Linked DNA regions of Homo sapiens: regions 1 and 3 are each linked to region 2. Evidence: promoter capture Hi-C in human tissues and cell types (Jung and others, 2019). All regions are on one chromosome and are shown on one strand. Each heading gives the region's core, a stretch centred on a gene start or on the middle of the fragment in contact. The rest is flanking DNA. Distances are from core to core; before and after follow the strand shown.

Evidence for each region. Contacts are between HindIII fragments. The study calls those that stand out against the background at their distance.
Region 1: a contact is called between the fragment with the promoter of BPHL here and the fragment with the promoter of SLC22A23 in region 2, in 1 of the 25 tissues and cell types used here (thymus).
Region 3: a fragment that was not itself captured here is called in contact with the fragment with the promoter of SLC22A23 in region 2 in 1 of the 25 tissues and cell types used here (small bowel).

The regions. Positions count from the first base shown.
Region 1 is chr6:3,116,363-3,120,601 of GRCh38, reverse strand. BPHL (biphenyl hydrolase like) reads right to left here and starts at 1,891. Exons shown (of 7, transcript NM_004332.4): 1 at 1,755-1,891. The coding sequence starts at 1,861. It overlaps LOC107986556 (a long non-coding RNA gene), which reads left to right and starts at 1,955. Exons shown (of 4, transcript XR_001743928.3): 1 at 1,955-2,813. RefSeq lists a silencer at 1,594-1,983 and an enhancer at 2,022-2,657. The HindIII fragment of the contact is 13,933 bases long and covers 1-4,239 here.
Region 2 is chr6:3,454,243-3,459,109 of GRCh38, reverse strand. SLC22A23 (solute carrier family 22 member 23) reads left to right here and starts at 2,060. Exons shown (of 10, transcript NM_015482.2): 1 at 2,060-3,204. The coding sequence starts at 2,551. It overlaps LOC643327 (a long non-coding RNA gene), which reads right to left and starts at 3,407. Exons shown (of 2, transcript NR_147844.1): 1 at 2,859-3,407. RefSeq lists silencers at 1,783-2,002, 2,063-2,292. The HindIII fragment of the contact is 13,877 bases long and covers 1-4,867 here.
Region 3 is chr6:3,718,832-3,723,243 of GRCh38, reverse strand. PXDC1 (PX domain containing 1) reads left to right here. Exons shown (of 5, transcript NM_183373.4): 5 at 1-625. LOC100507336 (a long non-coding RNA gene) reads left to right here and starts at 3,167. Exons shown (of 4, transcript NR_187650.1): 1 at 3,167-3,881. The HindIII fragment of the contact is 4,661 bases long and covers 1-4,163 here.

The sequences.
Region 1 (4,239 bases), core at 642-3,141, 340 kb after region 2:
CACTGGCTATTCTGAAGCAAAGTTTTTACACGAATCCTTTTACCTACTGACACTGAGCTACAGCTGCATTTCAGGATTAACTAATACCACTGCTTGTTTTCCCAGATTATATGTCATATCAACTTGCAGCTGCATTTATAAAACGGCCGTACAAAATCCAGAAAAACCTGTTTCTTCAGAGATATTTTAGGAAGAATGATCTGCAATGCAACTAGATGGATGGGGCCTTCCTCAACCATTAAATAACCTATCAGAACTATACTGGTAGGCCGAGAGCGGTGGCTCACGCCTGTAATCCCAGCACTTTGGGAGGCTGAGGCAGGTGGATCATTTGAGGTCAAGAGTTCGAGATCAGCTTGGCCAACATGGTGAAACCCCATCTCTACTAAAAACACAAAAATTAGCCGGGCATGGTGGCAGGTACCTGTAATCCCAGCTACTCGGGAGGCTGAGGCCACGAGAATCGCTTAAACCTGGGAGGCAGAGGTTGCAGTGAGCGAGATCACAACACTGCACTCCAGCATGGGCAAAAGAGCGAGAGTCAGTCTCAAAAAAAAAAAGAACTATATTGGTACAATCACAGTAACTTATTTCGATGCCTTTCTGCAGACAGGAAACTGGAAAAAATAATCATTTTCACTGTTAATTTATACAGCTGTAGCCATTAACATGTTTTTCCATCTATCAAAATAGCCCTGACCATCTTATAATAATTCTAAAATTAAAGGAGCTAGTCAATTGCAATATGAAATTTTAAAAGCTGGTCAGATTTGCCCTCTTTTCTCCTTCTAAATCAAGTTTTCAAACTAAAAGTTTCTATGTTGGATCAAGTACAGTTCTAAACGCTGTGTACCTATCTAGTACTGACTTTATGAAAGTAGCCCATCAACAGTCAACTGCGCACATGCACTGTGTACGTTCGTTGTATACGTGTGTTTGCATGTGTGTAGGGATGTATGTAGAGAATAAAGTAAAACAAGCTTCATGCCGCTCTATCCACATTTCTGCCCAGTATCTCTTGGGACCAAGAGTATCCATTTTCAAGACAGAAGGTCAGAAATTAATCCAGTTTTTTTGTTATTGTTTTACCTGAAATGGGGGGACAGGTGGGAGGACAAAAGAGAATAAAGCAGATTCCTGGGCATCTCCACACATGTAGATCAGATCCTCTGGGAGTGAGGCCCAGGATTCTGAATTTTCAGTTCCCAACGTGATTCTTTTGCACATTAAGGTACGAGATCAGCAAGCAAAGAGAAGACTTAGGGCTCTCGGGACCCGTGATTAAAGCCTTAGCGGTACTCAGGCTCAGGCTGATTTCTGACATAAGAGAAAGAAGAGATTATTGTCCTTATGCCCTTAGTGTGGACTCTGGACAGAGCAATGGACTAATGAGGGCGTTGGGATTCTAGTCCGTGCTCCGTCACGGGTGAGTCCATACTACAGGCAAATGTATCTCCCTGGGTCTCTCTGGTCTGCACACTGAAGGGGCTGCACTCTATAGCCCAAGCCTCCACGGCTCCAGACTCCTTGAACTGAGGCTGACCGAGGCGCATGCACGATCGAGGGGCTCGAGCACCAAGCGCGGCTGGCCCCCAGGATCGGGGTCTCGCGGCACAAAGGGCGACAGGGCAGCCAGGCCGCGCCCACGCCCCGTGCCCGCGCGCCGGGAACTCCTGCTGTCGGCACGCGCCCCTCCCGCCGCCCCTCGAGCGCGCCGATGCTGGGGATCCCCGGGGCGAGGTGGCCGCCATTACCCGAACGCGGCCGCGGGTCCGGCCCGTGGGACGTGGATCCCGGGCTTCAGCGCTGAGAGAAGCAGCCGCAGGCGCAACACGCCCCGGCCGCCCAGCACAGCCACCATGGTCACAGGTCGCGTAGCTGCCGGGAGTGCGCATGCGCTAAGACCAAGCGCGGTACCCGGCCCACTCTGCCCCGAAGCCACGCCCTCTGCTCCGCCCACCTCGCCTCTCCATCCTGCTCCGCCCTCTGCCCGCCCCGCCCCGAAGCCACGCCCTGCCGGGTGCTTTCCCATGGGCGACCGAAACTCGGCTCGTGGTTTCGCAGTCCTGGAACCGCCGGCACCCGCGTAGACCGTCCCCTCTCGGTGCTGGCTCTGGCTCCCGGGATGAGTGTCCCCGTCGGCGCTGCCCCGCCCTCGCTCGTCGCCTCAGCGACCATGGCCTTTCCAGGAGGCGAGGCCGCCAGCCATAGCGCCCTCGCTGCGTCGGCGTCCAGGCGGGACTCCGGAGTGGGCGGGGCTCCGGCTCTAGGCAGGCTGCTATGTTGGATCAAGTAAAGTTCTAAACGCTGTGCACCTATTTAGTACTGACTAGTACTAGGAAGTGTATTTGCTTTTCGGAGATGATGGGATCTAAATTTTGTTTATACCACTTCACGCCCATTAGGATGGCTACTAGCAAAACCCCCAGAAATTAGTGTTGGTGAAGATGTAGAGAAATTGAAGCCCTTGTATATTGCTGTTGGGAATGTAAAATGGTGCAGCCATGTGATGAACAATACTGCGGTTCCTCAACAAATCAGTTATATGATCCAGCATTTTCTTTTCTGGGTATATAACCCAAAAGAATTTAAAACAGGGTGTACAAGAAGAAATGTTTTTACACTCACGTTGACAGCGGCACTATTCACAATAGCCAAAAGGGTGGAGGCAATTTAAGTGTCCAAAAACAGATACATGGATAAGCAAAATGTTGTCTGTGCATGCAAGGGAACATTTTTTAGCCTGAACAAAGAACGAAATTCTGACACTTGCTACTACATGGATGAACCTGGAGGACACTATGCTGAGGGAGGTAAGCCAGTCAAAAAAAGACAAATACTGTGTGATTCCACTTATATAATAAGGTACCTAGAGGAGTCAAACTTATAGGGACAGAAAATAGAATGGGGGTTGTTGAGGGCTGGTGGAAGGGGGAATGGAAAGTTGGTGTTTCATGGGGACAGAGTTTCAGTTTGGAGAGATGAAAAAGTCCTGGGGATGGATTTTGGTGATGCCTGCATTACATTGTGAGTGTACTTACTGCCACTGAACTACACACCTAAAAGTGGTTTAAGTGGTAAGTTTTATGTATGTTTTACCACAATTAATTTTTTTTCTTTTGGCTGTATAATTGCAGCTTTATAAAGGTTATAGACATTATCTAATTGAAAGCTCAGTGGAGAAAAAAAACAACTATTGCTTTTTAAGTCAATCGTTCTGCCTTAATTGGAAATAACTGGCAGATTTGTGGCTACTGTTGTAGCCTTGGCTTGAATAATTGGAGACAACAGCTTCTTTGCATATTGCATTTCTTCTCCTCCAAGAGACCTTTTTGGTGTAACAGTCAGTCCTGTGAGCACAGTGCTTGTAGGTGTTACACTCATAGAAATTTCTGTCACCTGCAGTGTCCTCACTGGCCCATTGGACTTTCTTGAGTAGTAAAGGCAGTTTTGGCCTAAATACAGACTATGCAAAAGTTTTCATATTCTACTCTCAACATAAATCTATCACATTAATTCCTGCATAAAAGGAAAGAGACATATATAATGTTTGAGTTTAATATCGTTTGACTTTCAGAAATCTTTGGTGAGGTCAGTATTTCCTTTTTTCCTGATATGTTGATTGGGGTTTCATCTCAGAAATGATAAAAATAGCTGTCTGTACAGTTTCAACACCAGTTACCCTTGTGCTAATAAAAAACGGTAGCACTGAGTTTTAGGTTATTGGTGTCACAATTTTTTTTTTTTGAGACGGAGTTTTGGTCTTGTTGCCCAGGCTGGAGTGCAATGGCGCAATCTCAGCTCACTGTAACCTCTGCCTCGCAGGTTCAAGCAATTCTCCTGCCTCAGCCTCCTGAGTAGCTGAGATTACAAGCACCCGCCACCATGCCCGGCTAATTTTTGTAATTTTAGTAGAGACGAGGTTTTGCCATGTTGGCCAGGCTGGTCTCAAACTCCTGACCTCAGGTGATCCACCCGCCTCAGCCTCCTAAAGTGCTAGGATTACAGGTGTGTGCCACCGCGTCCAGCGTGGTGTCACTATTTTTAAGTAACATACCTGACAACCAGTTCTTTATATATAGCAAGATCGTACAGTTTAAAAAAACTGCCATTTTTGTGCCAGGCACCTTATGATATATCATATTTCTTTAATCTTCACATTAGCCTTCTGTGCTATTGCACTCTCCATTTATAGATGAGGCAACTGAGGCTAAGAAAGGTTAGGAAGCAAGCCCTAGG
Region 2 (4,867 bases), core at 811-3,310:
AGATATTTGGCTCAGCTGGGGACCAACTCTTTGATCTGGTAGTCAGTCACCTGATCCTTGCTGTTTCTCTTTGAAAGCCCACTTCTTGGGGCGCTGAATGTGAGGACTGAGTGAGAGTGTGAATTTGAAAGCCAACTCTGAAACGCTGGCTATGATAGTTATTCTGATTGGAAGGGCCATTAAGGTCAATGGCAATGCTCCTTTTGTGATCAGTTACAAGAAAACAAATGGGTCCTTGTGACTGTGGGGGAAGGGAGGCAGAGCCAGACACAAAGTGGACCTCTTCTGGAAAATCAGCCACTGAAAGGAAAATAAATAAAATCCGTAAAGTTATATTTCAATTCAAAAAGAAATGTGGATTGTATGTAATGGCAAGAGGAGCACTGGTAATAATACATGTCTAACATTCATTGCGCACTTACTCTGTTCCAGGCATGGAGGTCAGAACTTTGCATGTATTAGCTCTTCAAATGAGGGGAGGAGAGGGAAGGAAAAGAAAAGTTAAGCTAATAAATAATGTGAAGTTGAAAAATTACCACGTACACAACGTGCACTATCGTGTCCCCCCCCGCCCCAAGCCCCCAGCTCTTTATATATGTGGTTTCCAGACCCATTTCTCAGCGGTCTGGTGTCTTTTGCAGCCCTTAGGGCCCCTTCCGCCCATTGTTATCTAATCACCCCTTCTCGGCCACGCAGGAAGGTCCACAACCTCCCCTGTCCCCCAAGACCCGCCCCCCGGCAGCCTTCAGAAATAGTTCTCTGGTACGTATGTGCCAGCATTTTATGCAGTAAACACATGTTGCCCTTAACACTGAACTGCAGGTTAAAAATGTATTCCACTAAATTGTGCAGCGGTTAGCTGAGCAAATAATGAAAATGCAAAAGAATACATTCAGTATATGGAGCTTAGAATATATCCTTTTGGAAAGCTAAACATTTTTTTTTTTTTTGCCCCAAATAAGACTAGAAATGGATTGCTCCATTTAAGACTTCCATTAATAAACTTCTCAGAATATGAAATGCCTCCAAAATGTGGGGACGCTGGGTTGAAAGGTGCCGGATAATTCTCTTTGGTGCGTGCGCTGGGTGCAGGAGGAAATATGCTAATGTAGCCGTTTGCCGCAGGGCTGGTGTTATTTATACAGCGCTGGCTGGGCAAGGTTGGCGCTGGAGCAGGAGAGGAGGGAGAGGTTTGTCTTCTTGTGTGAGAGTATAGATGTGTGCGCCTGTGCACACGGCGTTCCAAACGTGAATACAAGATCTTAGGGAGGGGGTGGGGAATGCCATCACGTTTATACTGTGTGTATTATAACTTGTGTTGGAGATATATCCCAGCATCGTGCTTACATCGCATGCACTTAGGAGTGGGGGAAGAAATGGCGATTTGGGAGTGGGTGCGGCGGGTCGCAGGTGGCCAGACACTGCGGGGGACTGGCGACCTGAAATTGGCAAAGGCGCCTCCTTGACCCTGCTCCACGGACACAAAAATCAACCTTATTCGCTCCTGGAAAAAGCGCAGAGGGTTGTTCCCGAAGGCTGAAGACCCTCGGGCTTGGGACTGGGAGCGGGGCGCGGGCAGCGGGACCGCCGGGCACCTCTGAAGAGACAGAGGTCACGGAGACCTGGCGCGCGCGGAGTGGGTGGGGGGCCCGCGCGGCTGCGGGAGCCCAGCCTCAGAGAAGACCCGGCCCACACGTTCTCAGCGCACGCCGACTTTGCCGGGACCCGTCGCCGGCCGGCGACCCCTGCTACGCGCGTCTCCTCCTCCCCCGCCCCGCCCGGCGCGAAACGGGCAACGGGCAGGGGATCCTCCAGCCAGGCGGGCCCGGGGTGTCCCGTTTCCCCCGCCCCCCTCCCGTGGATCCCGGGCGGCGGCGGCCGCGCGTCCGGGCTGGAGGGGGCGCTCGCGAGCAGGAGCCGAGCGCAGCAGGTGCCGCGGTTACCTCCACCTCGGCGGGGGGAGAGGGGGCGGGCCGGGGGGCAGGGAGGAGGGGGAGGAGGAGGAGGAGGAGGAGGAGTGGGGCCGGCTCCAGGAGCTGGAGAGCGCGGCCGGCTCGGCAGGCTGGGTCCAGAGCTCGCGGCTTCCGGGAGGCGCCCGAAGTCGGAGAAATACAGCGCGGCCACCCCGGGAGCAGCAGCCTTTGCCCGCACCGCCGCCCGCAGGGCCCTGAACCGCCGGCAAGGGCGCGGGCCGGGCGCGGCGCCGGCTCCTCCTCCTGCCGCGTCCGGCGCGGAGCAGCGGAGAGCGGCGGGCTCGGCAGCCGGCGCCCGGGCCGCGGAACTGATGAGCCGCGGCGGCTGAGGGCCCGGCCGGCCTCTGCCCGCCTCTGCCCGGCGCCCGAGCGGGGCCGCAGCGCCCGGGGCGCGGGGTCCGGCGGGTGACATGGGGGCGGCCTGACGCACCCGGAGCCGCCGAGCGCTCTCTCTCGAGCCGCGGGCCCTCCTCGGCGGCAGCGGCTGCAGGCGCCTGGCCCGGCGCGCTGTGCCCGGGGCGCCCGCGGAGCCTCCGCCGCGCTCTATGCGCCTCTGCGGGAGCCGCGGGCCCGGGCCATGGCCATAGACCGGCGGCGCGAGGCGGCGGGCGGCGGGCCTGGGCGGCAGCCGGCCCCGGCCGAGGAGAACGGCTCCCTGCCGCCCGGGGACGCGGCGGCCTCGGCGCCCCTCGGGGGACGCGCGGGCCCCGGCGGCGGCGCGGAGATCCAGCCGCTGCCCCCACTGCATCCTGGAGGCGGCCCGCACCCGAGCTGCTGCTCCGCGGCTGCGGCCCCGAGCCTCTTGTTGCTGGACTATGACGGGTCGGTGCTGCCCTTCCTCGGGGGCCTGGGCGGGGGCTATCAGAAGACCCTCGTGCTGCTCACCTGGATCCCGGCGCTGTTCATCGGCTTCAGCCAGTTCTCGGACTCGTTCCTCCTGGACCAGCCCAACTTCTGGTGCCGCGGGGCCGGCAAAGGCACCGAGCTGGCAGGGGTCACCACCACAGGCCGGGGCGGGGACATGGGCAACTGGACCAGCCTCCCCACCACCCCCTTCGCCACTGCCCCCTGGGAGGCTGCGGGCAACCGGAGCAACAGCAGCGGCGCGGACGGAGGCGACACACCACCCCTGCCATCCCCTCCGGACAAGGGGGACAACGCCTCCAACTGTGACTGCCGCGCATGGGACTACGGCATCCGCGCCGGCCTCGTCCAGAACGTGGTCAGCAAGGTAAGGGCCGCAGCCGCCCAGTCCCTCCAACCCTCTCCCTGCAGACCGAGGTCCAAGCCCGAGCCAGCGGGAGAACCGAAGTCCCCAAAGTGGTGGTGCTAGAGTGTGTGTAGGGCATTCCGCATTGGCTTAATCTCCTTCCGTCCCCCAAACCACATGCCTTTACTTGGGTGTAAAGGGAGCACCATAGCCTTTACTAGTTTGCACCCAAACTCCTGTCCCAGTACGCGGATGGAAAGCGCGCCCTTCCCCCACCCTCGGGGCGAGGCAGCTGACCTGTCACCAGCCCCCTCTGGAGGAGTCGGACTGGCGTCGTTCAAGGTCTGCTGGGGGAGTCGGGACCACAGCCCTGTTCTGCCCGGCTAGTTGTCCCTGGGTCTCCCACAAAGCAATAGTCTTCCATCTCGCACTTGATTTTGACACAGGTAAAGCCTACTAAAGAACTGGAGAGCCAGAGAAGCAAAGACTCCTGCAAATCCCCAACCCGCAGCCGATGCTTAGTCCTCCCCAAAGATATCTGACTTTAGGCTTTGCTACCCCAGTGTCTCCTCCCATGTTTTCTCAGCACTTCAGTAAACATCACTACAGTATAGGAAGGACGCGGAGAATATGTCATTTGGGTGTTCCCCGGCCGTCACCGCTCTTACACAGCAGCTGCTTTGGGCTGAGGCACTGAGAACGGGGGTGTGCTTTAGCTGAAACATGCACCTTGTCCTCTGAGTCCTGTAGCTAAAGCTCCCTTGCAGAGGTATTGCGTGGTGTGAAATGTAGCAGAAGGGAGTTGTGAGACAAGTGTGAAGGCCTAAACACAGAGTGGGCAATGGTGGACACTCAATGCCCCTAGACAGCTGTAATTTTATTCTTAACATATAAGAGATATCAAGACATTTGTAGTTTTGCTCCTTGTGTCTAAACTAATTAATTCACATTTTAAAGTAAATACAGACTCTCCTCCACCCCACCCGCTACCCATTCTGGGCTGTTCTGGCAGAGTTTTAAATGCTTTGTCGAAATGTATGAAATTGGACAGTTTTAAATAGTCAATGTGCATGTAACCTCCTCCCCCCGTGTGCATTGGTTAACAGTTGTAGCTCATGGATGTGTAAGATAAACTCTTACATCATCATAATCATTGTTTTAATCTTGTACCAACCTGGCCAGAAATGCTCTGTCCTGTGGGAACTGTCTGACTGAGCTGCCCCTGCTGCCCTGCAAGGTAATGGGGAAGGTCCTTCTAGCTGGGTTCACCTTGATCCCACCCACCTCCTACCCCCTGCTTTCTAAAGGTGTTTCTGTGACTGTTTTCCCTTCACGGAGGGCAATATTTCTTTGTTGGTTTAGCAGCAAAGAAAAATTAAGAACAATGACTATTTAAATCACTGTGTATGTCTGACAGACTGAGGATTTGGCAACATTGTTAAGTATTTCAAGTGTCTTTCTAGAGCAGAGGGAGAATAATGGATCAAAGTGAGTATGTGTGAAGAGCGCTGTGTCCTGGGGTCAAAGTAGAGGTGAACTTGAAAGTGATGAGATGGGATAGAGTGCCATTACCTTGGCAGTGAGGACCCAGGAAACAGCTATTCACACTCAGCCATGCACGGTGGGAGGAGAGAACAAAAATAGTTCTTAAAAGCAGACTATGGAGGCATATTGGAGAGCTGGG
Region 3 (4,412 bases), core at 584-3,083, 260 kb before region 2:
CCCCCCAGCCACCCTGACTCCCCACCATTCCCTCCCACGGCAAACGCACAAAACGTCTTGAGGGAGATTTTGACAAGTCACCCATTCCAGGTGCCACAGGCAGGGGATGTTTAGTAATCCAGGATTTCTCTGAGAACTGGGATATGTGGCCTTTTTTTTTTTCTTTTTATCTTTTATCTGGAAACTGGGTTTGGGTCAACCCCAGGAGTATTTGCAGAAGGCCCAGCACAGTGGGGGGTATTGGCTGCAGGGCAGGGAAGGCATTGCCGACTAGATAACCGTGTGAGCTTGGACTGAGCGTTGGTGGTTCTTCCCAAAGGAAAGGAATTTCTTCCCGGCCTGCCAGGTCTCTGGGCCTTCAGCGCGGGTCCTGGTGCTGCGGCCACACCACCCTGGGGTGCTCATTGACAGAGCTGCCATAATGAACTTGAAAGGACGGGAATCACGAGGGAAGCTGGGGCTCCCCTGCCCACAGGAGAGGATCCCCGTTCTTCAAGCTTCTCTGCTCAGTGTCTACTAACGACCGACATTTGCTAATGTAAATAATAGTAAATTATTGAGAATTCTAATTCTTTTACACAGTCTGTTTTTAATCTATTTTAATTAAATAAAATCTATGACTCTACTTTGATCTGTCCAGGATGTTTGTGTATAAAGGCGTGGTTCTTTCTGTCCCCTGCCTTGGGACAGGGTGGAAACTAAAACTGACTCCTGGGGCCTGGTCCCTCCCCCTCTTCCTGTCACATTCCGTGAGTGACAAAGTGTGTTATGTTCTTACCCTAGGGAAGTGGTCTGCCCAGATTGAAAAATGGACACACTGCTTGTTTTATTTTGGAGGGAGACGGGGGTTGACTTAGGCTTTTTTCTTTTCCTCCATTTTTCTTTTTGGCAGCCACAGGAATTCTCTTTGATGACCCAGCTGCAAAGCACATGGACTTTCCTTTGGTTTTGCATTTCCCTCTGCCTTCCAGCTGTGTTGTTTAAAGCATCTCAATTTCAAATAGGCTAGTAGGTGGCTCACTCCGGGGTTGACCGGTTGCCTTTCTTTTCTTGACACATCAAATTCAGTTCTGTGCAAGGATGAGGCTTCCTGCTTAGTAGCTAAGATTAGAAGTGATCAGCATGTTCAATTAATGCCCATCTGACTTTCAAGGATTGATTCACGGATTCGTCTCATCCGTTTCACAGAGGTGCTTCTCCCCAGCCATTCGGTCACTGTGATGCAGCTTCCTTGGCCACCTCCTTGCTCAGGCTGTGTTCCTCTGTCAAGACTCAAATTTGGCTCCCCAACCTCATCCCCTGCTCAGCCTTCACTGAAGAAGTTTTACTGTTACTAGTCCGTGCGCAATGAGGTCTTGCCAGTAGGGGTGAGATGTTTGGACATCTGTTGTCCTATTAAGCACATCAGAGCATTCTCTGGCTTCCTTTTTTTTTTTTCTGGAAAAACATAGGTCTCATAAGTTCATTTTTTATATTCCCACACTTGAAAGAGCCATAAGTACAAATAAATGTTTCTTTAGGTGCAAAGATATATGCTTACTGGCACTCAGCATCACTGTTGGAAGCAGTATGGAGTGGTGGCAGCTATGGCAAACAGGAGCACTCAGACGCTGCATCAAGGGAGCAGCTACCACTGCTCAGTTTAGCTGGTTGTTTTGCCTGCAAGTATGGGCCCAGTATGGCCAGATCTCCTAGTTTTTCAATAAAAGCTAGAAATCTGACTCTTCTTTGTGAAATATCCCAATTTTGAGGTGTTGACAATAAATAAATAAAAATAAACAAAAATATATTAGAAACTTGACCAAGTGAAAGAATTGTGAATTGTCAGCCTCTAAACTGTCATTTCAGAAAATCGATACCAGAGCAGTTGAGGTTCATGTGTGAATTTTCACTCTTGCCCGCACATTCCTCCAGGTGAGAGGTGACAGCGTGCTGGCAGTCCTCACAGCCCTCGCTCGCTCTCGGCGCCTCCTCTGCCTGGGCTCCCACTTTGGCGGCACTTGAGGAGCCCTTCGGCCCGCCGCTGCACTGTGGGAGCCCCTTTCTGGGCTGGCCAAGGCTGGAGCCCACTCCCTCAGCTTGCAGGGAGGTGTGGAGGGAGAGGCACGAGCGGGAACCAGGGCTGCGTGTGGCGCTTGCTGGCCAGCTGGAGTTCCGGGTGGGCCTGGGCTTGGCGGGCCCCGCACTGGGAGCAGCCGGCCAGCCCTGCTGGCCCCGGGCAATGAGGGACTTAGCACCCGGGCTAGTGGCTGCGGAGGGTGTACTGGGTCCCCCACTAGTACCAGCCCATCGGTGCTGTGCTCGATTTCTCACCGAGCCTTAGCAGCCTTCCCGCAGGGCAGGGCTCGGGACCTGCAGCCCGCCATGCCTGAGCCTCCCACCCACTCCATGGGCTCCTGTGCCGCCCGAGCCTCCCCGACGAGCACCACCCCCTGCTCCACGGCGCCCAGTCCCATCGACCACCCAAGGGCTGAGGAATGTGAGCACACGCGCAGGACTGGCAAGCAGCTCCACCTGCAGCCCCAGTGTGGGATCCACTAGGTGAAGCCAGCTGGGCTCCTGAGTCTGGTGGGGATGTGGAGAGTCTTTATATCTAGCTCAGGGATTGTAAACACACCAATCAGCACCCTGTGTCTAGCTCAAGGTTTGTGAGTGCACCAATCGACACTCTGTATCTAGCTGCTCTGGTGGGGCCTTGGAGAACCTTTATGTCTAGCTCAGGGATTGTAAATACACCAATCAGCACCCTGTGTTTAGCTCAAGGTTTGTGAGTGCACCAATCAACACTCTGTATCTAGCTGCTCTGGTGGGGACATGAAGAACCTTTATGTCTAGCTCAGGGATTGTAAATACACCAATCAGCACTCTGTATCTAGCTCAAGGTTTGTAAACACACCAATCAGCACCCTGTGTTTAGCTCAAGGTTTGTGAATGCACCAATTAACACTCTATATCTAGCTGCTCTGGTGGGGCCTTGGAGAACTTGTGTGGTGAAACTCTGTGTCTAACTAATCTGATGGGGACATGGAGAACCTTTGTATCTAGCTCAGGGATTGTAAACGCACCAATCAGCGCCCTGACAAAACAGACCACTTGGCTCTACCAATCAGCAGGATGTGGGTGGGGCCAGATAAGAGAATAAAAGCAGGCTGCCCGAGCCAGCATTGACAACTCGCGGGGATTGTTTTCCACACCGTGGAAGCTTTGTTCTTTTCGTTTTTTGCAATAAATCTTGTTGCTGCTCGCTTTTTGGGTCCACATTGCTTTTATGAGCTGTACCACTCACCGTGAAGATCTGCAGCTTCACTTCAGAGCCTAGCGAGACCACAAGCTCACTGAGAGGAACAAACAACTCCAGACGCGCTGTCTTAAGAGCTATAACACTCACCGCGAAGGTGTGCAGTTTCACTCCTGAGCTAGTGAGACTACGAAGCCACTGGAACGAAGAAACTCCAACCACGTTTGAACATCAGAAGGGGCAGACTCCAGACGCTTCATCTTAAGAGCTGTAACACTCACTGTGAAGGTCTGCAGCTTCACTCCTGAGCCAGCGAGACCACGAACCGATCTGAACATCAGAAGGGACAGACTCCAGATGCCCCACCTTAAGAGCTGTAATACTCACTGCAAGGGTCTGCAGCTTCATTCTTGAAGTCAGACCAAGAACCCAGCAATTCCCAACACACAGGGACCAGCTTCTTTCCTAACTCACTTAGGCTCTTCGTGCTGCTCTGGCAACTAACACCCTTGGCTGCAGGGGCTTGGACACTACCCTTAGTCACTGACAATTGTGTGAAGGCTGCTGTCGTTAACTTCACTTGATCACCTTAGGCTCCTGTGAAGTGGTGAGCAATTCAAACAAATTCCTGTCGTCAAATCATGTAAGTCACCTAAGTTTTCCTATTTAAAAAGCGCTTTCAGCATGCACTATTTATGGGCTGAGGAATCATTCCTTCTTTGTTTTGTTACAAATGCTCATTTTCATGTATGAGGCCTTCCTAAAGTGAAAAATGCACAGTGTAAACATTGCCTAGTCCCGCCTGTGGTGATTCCTGCAGAATTGACACTCCCCAGCACTTCCCTTGTGGGGAGGCACACGAGCATAAGCTACCTGGTAATGGAGCTGACTGTGGGCTCCTTCATAAGCATACAGTTCTCGTGGCTGTGACATTTATTAATAGAAGTATACCTGGGGGTGTTGGCAGCCAAACTGCCCTGAGCAATGTGTCCTAACCTTCACTAGTTTCTCCTGTTGGGGATAGAACATATTCTTGGGTTTCATTTTAGAAGCATTCTGTCAAATTACAAGCCTTTTTATTGCAACTAAAATTTCTGTCCTGTGTTCTCTGTGCCTTCTGCAGACCAATATTCTCCTCTAGGCCCAAGGACTTAAAATGCAGACTGTATTATTT